Regions from separate parts of the Homo sapiens genome. Here region 2 is linked to region 1. Evidence: promoter capture Hi-C in human tissues and cell types (Jung and others, 2019). All regions are on one chromosome and are shown on one strand. The core of a region is centred on a gene start or on the middle of the fragment in contact, and the rest is flanking DNA. Distances in the headings are between cores, read along the strand shown.

Region 1 (2,786 bases), core at 204-2,703:
TCCTTGTTCCCACAGGCTCTGAGACTTCACCAATCTCTGTTTCTACCTGGTTCAACCCAGCCCCCTGATGTCCTGGGCTGGAGCTGCTGGGGTGGTCACAGCATTGGACAATCAGACCTTGACTAGGGCCACATCAGGGGCACACTCATAGCCTAGTCCTCATGTGGCCAGATGGAGAAGGAATTTCAGGTGAGGTGGCTCATGCCTGTAATCCCAGTATTTTGGGAGGCCAAGGCAGGAGGATCATTTGCACTCAGGAGTTAGAGACCAGCCTGGGCAACACAGTGAGACCCCCATCTCTACAAAAAATAAAAAGTAGCTAGGTGTGGTGGCACATTCCTGTGGTCCCAGCTACTTGGGAGGCTGAAGTAGGATGGCTTGAGCCCAGGAGTTCGAGACCAGTCTTGGCAACATAGGGAGACTCCTGTCTCTGTCTGTCTACCTGTCTGTCTATCTATCTATCTATATTTATTTTTGAAACAGAGTCTCTCTCTGTTGCCCAGGCTGGAGTACAGTGGCACAATCTCGGCTCTCTGCAACCTCCTATCTATCTATCTATATTTATTTTTGAAACAGAGTCTCTCTCTGTTGCCCAGACTGGAGTGCAGTGGTACAATCTCGGCTCTCTGCAACCTCCCACTCCAGGGTTCAAGCGATTCTCCTGCCTCAGCCTCCTGAGTAGCTGGGATTATAGGCATGTGCCACCAAGTCCAGCTAATCTTTGTATTTTTAGTAGAGACGGGGTTTCACCATGTTGGCCAGGCTGGTCTCGAACTCCTGACCTCAGATGATCCTCCCGCCTTGGTGTCCCAAAGTGCTGGGATTACAGGCATGGGACACACCGTGCCTGGCCCCATCTCTATTTAAAAAAAAAAAAAAAAAAAAAAAAAAGGTTGGGCGCAGTGGCTCACACCTGTAATCCCAGCACTTTGGGAGGCCAAGGTGGGCAGATCACAAGGTCAGGAGTTTGAGACCAGCCTGACCAATATGGTGAAACTCCAACTCTACTAAAAATACAAAAATTAGCCAGGCATGGTGGCACACGCCTGTATTCCCAGCTACTTAGGAGGCTGAGGCAGGAGAATCATTTGATCCTGGGAGGCAGAGGTTGCAGTGAGCTAAGATTGCACCACTGCACCACTCCAGCCTGGGCAACAGATCAAGACTCCGTTTCAAAAAAAAAAAAAAAAGAGAGACAGAAAGAGAAGGAATTTCTACTGCAACTCTGAGTGGGAAGAGCATGGGAGGAACATCTCTGGCTCTTCTCTGATGGGTAAGCTTGGAATAAGAAACCAAGTGTACCCAGCTCAGCTCTCTTCTCCAACCTGGCTCTAAGCACCAGAGGAGGCACCTGGGCCTGCTGAGCAGGTGGTGAACCCACAGAGCCGGGGCTTAGCCACACACAGCAACGCTCATCTCACGGGTAGGCACTCACACTTATAATCTGACACCTGCATCTTTCAAGTGGTTCAGACTCGAAAGGCAGGAAAAGGTGGTGTTACTTACTGAACCCCTAAAGCCTGAGCCACCTGCAAGGCCCTGCCCACTCCTGTCCCCATTATCTCCTTTTGTTTTATTTTTTTTTTTTTTGAGACAGGGTCTCACTCTGTCACCCAGTCTGGAGTGCAGTGGTGATCACAGTTCACTGCAACCTCCGAGTCCCAGGCTTAAGCAATCCTCCCACCTCAGCCTCCTGAATAGCTGGGATACCAGCTGGGTAGATGCACACCACCACACCTGGCTAATTTTTTCTGTAGAGACAGGGTTTCACCATGTTGCCCAAGCTGGTCTCAAACTCCTGAACTCAAAGTGATTCACTTGCCTCAGATGTCCCAGGTTGGCCTTAAACTCCTGGGCTCAAGTGATCCACCCACCTCAGCCTCCCAAAGTGCTGGGTTTACACATGTGAGCCACCATGCCCGGCCCTGACCTCAACTTCGACAGCTCTTACCCCTGCTCACTCTGCCACACAACCTTCTTTCTGTTTCTGGAAAATGCCAAGTTCATTCTCATCTTAGCAGTGCTGGCCTTTCCTCTTCTGCCCTAGCTCTTCTGATCTTTGCTTTCTCTTCACCTCTCAGATCTCAGCACAGAGGCCTACCGTGCTCACTCAACCATGCAAGTATGCCTCCATCACGTGACCCTGGTGTACTGGCTCAGAGTCTCCAAAATTACAACATGGTGGCCGAGCGCAGTGGCTCACACCTGTAATTCCAGCACTTTGGGAGGCCGAGGTGAGCAGATCACGAGGTCAGGAGTTTGAGACCAGCCTGACCAACATGGTGAAACCCCATCTCTACTAAAGATACAAAAATTAGCTGGGCGTGGTGGCGGGTGCCTGTAATCCCAGCTACTTGGGAGGCTGAGGCAGGAGAATCACTTGAACCCGGGAGACGGAGGTTGCAGTGAGCCAAGATCGCACCACTGCACTCCAGCCTGGGTGACAGAGTGAGACTCTGTCCCCACACAAAAAAACTAAAGCATGGACTGGCTTACCTGTTTGTTGTCCTGTCTTCTCCTCTATGAGATCTACGAGGGCAGGGTCTTGTCAGTTTTGTTCACTGTGGTGGCCCAGTTTCCCAGAACCTAGAACAGTGCCTGCAAAATAGCAGAAGCTCAAGAAAGATTGGTTGAATGAATAAACTGAATACTTCTCGGGAAAAAAAAATGATTTTTTTCTTTAATAGTAAAATAATATACGTCTTGGAAAATACAGCATACAAAATACAGAAAATATAATTGAGCACTTTTATGAGCATATCGATCATTGAATCGCGAGTCTGCAT
Region 2 (2,700 bases), core at 105-2,604, 630 kb before region 1:
AGGGGCTGGGGAGGGTGAATGAGGGATGAGTGTTACGGGACAGAGTTTCAGCTTGGGGAGATGAGAAGATTCTGAATATGGAGGATAGTGATGGCTGCTGTGAATATACTTAATGCCACTGAATAGTACACTTAAAATGGTTAAGATGGTGAACTGTATGTTATGTATATTTTACCATCATTTTAAAAATTGAAAAAAACTTTTTTCTTATTGTTCAGTTCCTCCCAAACTTGCCATCAATGAAATTTTCCCCATCACTCTACCCAGATCGCTGTTTCTAATGTTTTCCATGCCATTAAATGTGATGGATATTCTTCAGCCTTTATTTTGCTTAGCCTTATAGCATCGTTTTACATGGTTGTTAGAAATAAATCTTGGAGTCATAAAGAAAAATGAGCACTCAAACAAAGGATTTCTCAGCAAAGCAAATTTACTTCTGCGCAGAAGGGTGCTTCTCGTAGGGTTGGCTGCTACAAGAGCACCCTGAACAAAGGAGAGTAGCAACTTTTATTCTTAATGCGACTCTTGACTTTGTGTGTCCTTTCCCCATTGGCTGGGGTCGGACAGCACAATCTAAACTAGACTTGATTGGTTACACATTTAAACTGTCTTAGATAAGGTGGGTGTGTGATGGGAGACAGAGGAGAGGAGGAAGGGGTCTTCTACAGAGGAATAGACAGCTAGTCTATTCTTAAATAAGGAAAGAAATGTGAGCTGGGGCTATGGCATATCTGGGCATGCAGCAAAATCAGAAAGAAGAAAAGGAGAAGAAAGTGTGTGGGGGGGGTACTTGGAATTAGAGAATAAGAAGCTGAGCAGGCTGTTTGAAGAGAAATCTTGCTGTATCTCGCAATGGTTGACTCTCCCTCTCTTGAAACAGGACTTACGACATGTCCACAGCCTGTTTAACGCCCTGCAGCCAACGCGATCACAGGGGATTCACGGAAATAGTTGCATCTCTATTTTCTTCTGTGTTACCTTGAGACCCTTAGGCACTGGGATTACAGAGAGATGGGTCTTTGTAGCTTCTGCGACACATTCCAGAGGGGAAAACCTCTTTATCTCAAAGCCAAACCAATAGTGATGAAAGCTCTTCCAAGAATAAAGAGGCCCCAAGAGGGTGGGAGGTGCAGAGAGAGTCACCTGGCTTCAGAGCTGCCTTCTTGGAAACAGAATTAGAACACATCATACCTTTCTGCCATTTGCTCTTGATCCCAAGGGAGCCGAATGGGTTGGAGAGTAGAACATCACTGGAACAGTGGATTTAATGAGGAAGGATGAGACATCAGCTCCCTGGGGCTTGAGAAACCATAAATACTTCCCTAAAACACCTCACCTGGACAGTTTCCTGACGCCACACTCATGCATCTTAGAGAGGAGAGTTAGGATGACTTCATGACAAGTTCCATCTCCCCGCCTTTCCCTGCTAGATTCTGTCTTCAGCATTCAACAGTCAGGGGAGGAAGACGTCATACCAGCATTTTTTTTTTTCAAGCAATGTCAGTTGAGTGACTCACACTATCCTTGTTAGTACCGTGTGTGAAAAGGATTTAAAAAGTAGTGTGGGGAGGAACAGAGATGGAGGTAACAGGGTTGATAATGTCTCATGATTTTTAAAATGTCTCTAGGATTCCCTTACCTGGTTATAGATGTCTTAAGGCATTGCAACTTTTGGGAGGCTGAGGCAGGCGGATCGCTTGAGGCCAGGAGTCTAAGACAAGCCTGGCCAACTTGGTGAAACCCCATCTCATCTAAAAATACAAAAATTAGCTGGGCATGGTGGCGGATGCCTGTAATCCCAGCTACTCGGGAGCCTGAGTCAGGAGAATGGCTTGAACCCGGGAGACAGAGGTTGCCATGAGCCAAGATCACGCCACTGCACTCCAGCCTGGGTGACAGAGTGAGTGAGACGCTGTCTCAAAAAAAAAAAAAGATTCTATTGCAACTGTTTCTGTCACCTCCACCTCTGATGGCCTTTCATTCTGGAAACTAGTGACTTTCTCAATGTCAGTAGGAACTGGCACTTCCTTGAGTGGATTCCTTTCAGTCTACCTGCTAACACCTTCCTTTTTCTTCTCTAGTATAATATAATAGTTCTCGGCCGGGTGCAGTGGCTCATGCCTATAATCCCAGAACTTTAGGAGGCCGAGGCGGGTGGATCACAAGGTCAAGAGATCGAGACCATCCTGGCCAACATGGTGAAACCCTGTCTCTACTAAAAATACAAAATTAGCCGGGCATGGTGGTGTGTGCCTGTAGTCCCAGCCATTTGGGAGGCTGAGGCAGGGGAATTTCTTGAACCTGGGAGGCAGAGGTTGCAGTGAGCTGAGATTGCACCATTGCACTTCAGCCTGGGCAACAAGAACAAAACTCCGTCTAAAAAAAAAAAAATCAACAAAGCAAAGCAAAACAAAACAAGTATGTATTAAATGTTCACTCTGCACCAGATGTTACATATATTATCATTGCAATTGTGAATGGACTTTTTTTCCTCTTATTTTTTCTCATGGCTGTTTGCAGATACATAAGAAAGCTGATGACACTGATTAGTTGTAATTAATTGTGTTTAAGTTGACTTTTTTTTTTTTTGAGACAGGGTCTTTCTGGGCTCAAGCAAACCTCCTGCCTTGGCCTCCCAAGTAGCTAATTTTTTAAAAATCTATTTTTGTAGAGGCAAGTGTCTCATTTTGTTGTCTAGGC

The links. Contacts are between HindIII fragments. The study calls those that stand out against the background at their distance.
Region 2: the fragment with the promoter of OR7D2 here is called in contact with a fragment that was not itself captured in region 1 in 1 of the 25 tissues and cell types used here (dorsolateral prefrontal cortex).

What each region holds. Positions count from the first base shown.
Region 1 is chr19:9,807,616-9,810,401 of GRCh38, forward strand. FBXL12 (F-box and leucine rich repeat protein 12) reads right to left here. Exons shown (of 3, transcript NM_017703.3): 3 at 2,655-2,786. Among named protein-coding and RNA genes, the nearest start is that of FBXL12, 10 kb to the right of the region's middle. The HindIII fragment of the contact is 6,151 bases long and covers 1-2,786 here.
Region 2 is chr19:9,177,625-9,180,324 of GRCh38, forward strand. OR7D2 (olfactory receptor family 7 subfamily D member 2) reads left to right here and starts at 1,355. Exons shown (of 3, transcript NM_175883.4): 1 at 1,355-1,499. The HindIII fragment of the contact is 33,183 bases long and covers 1-2,700 here.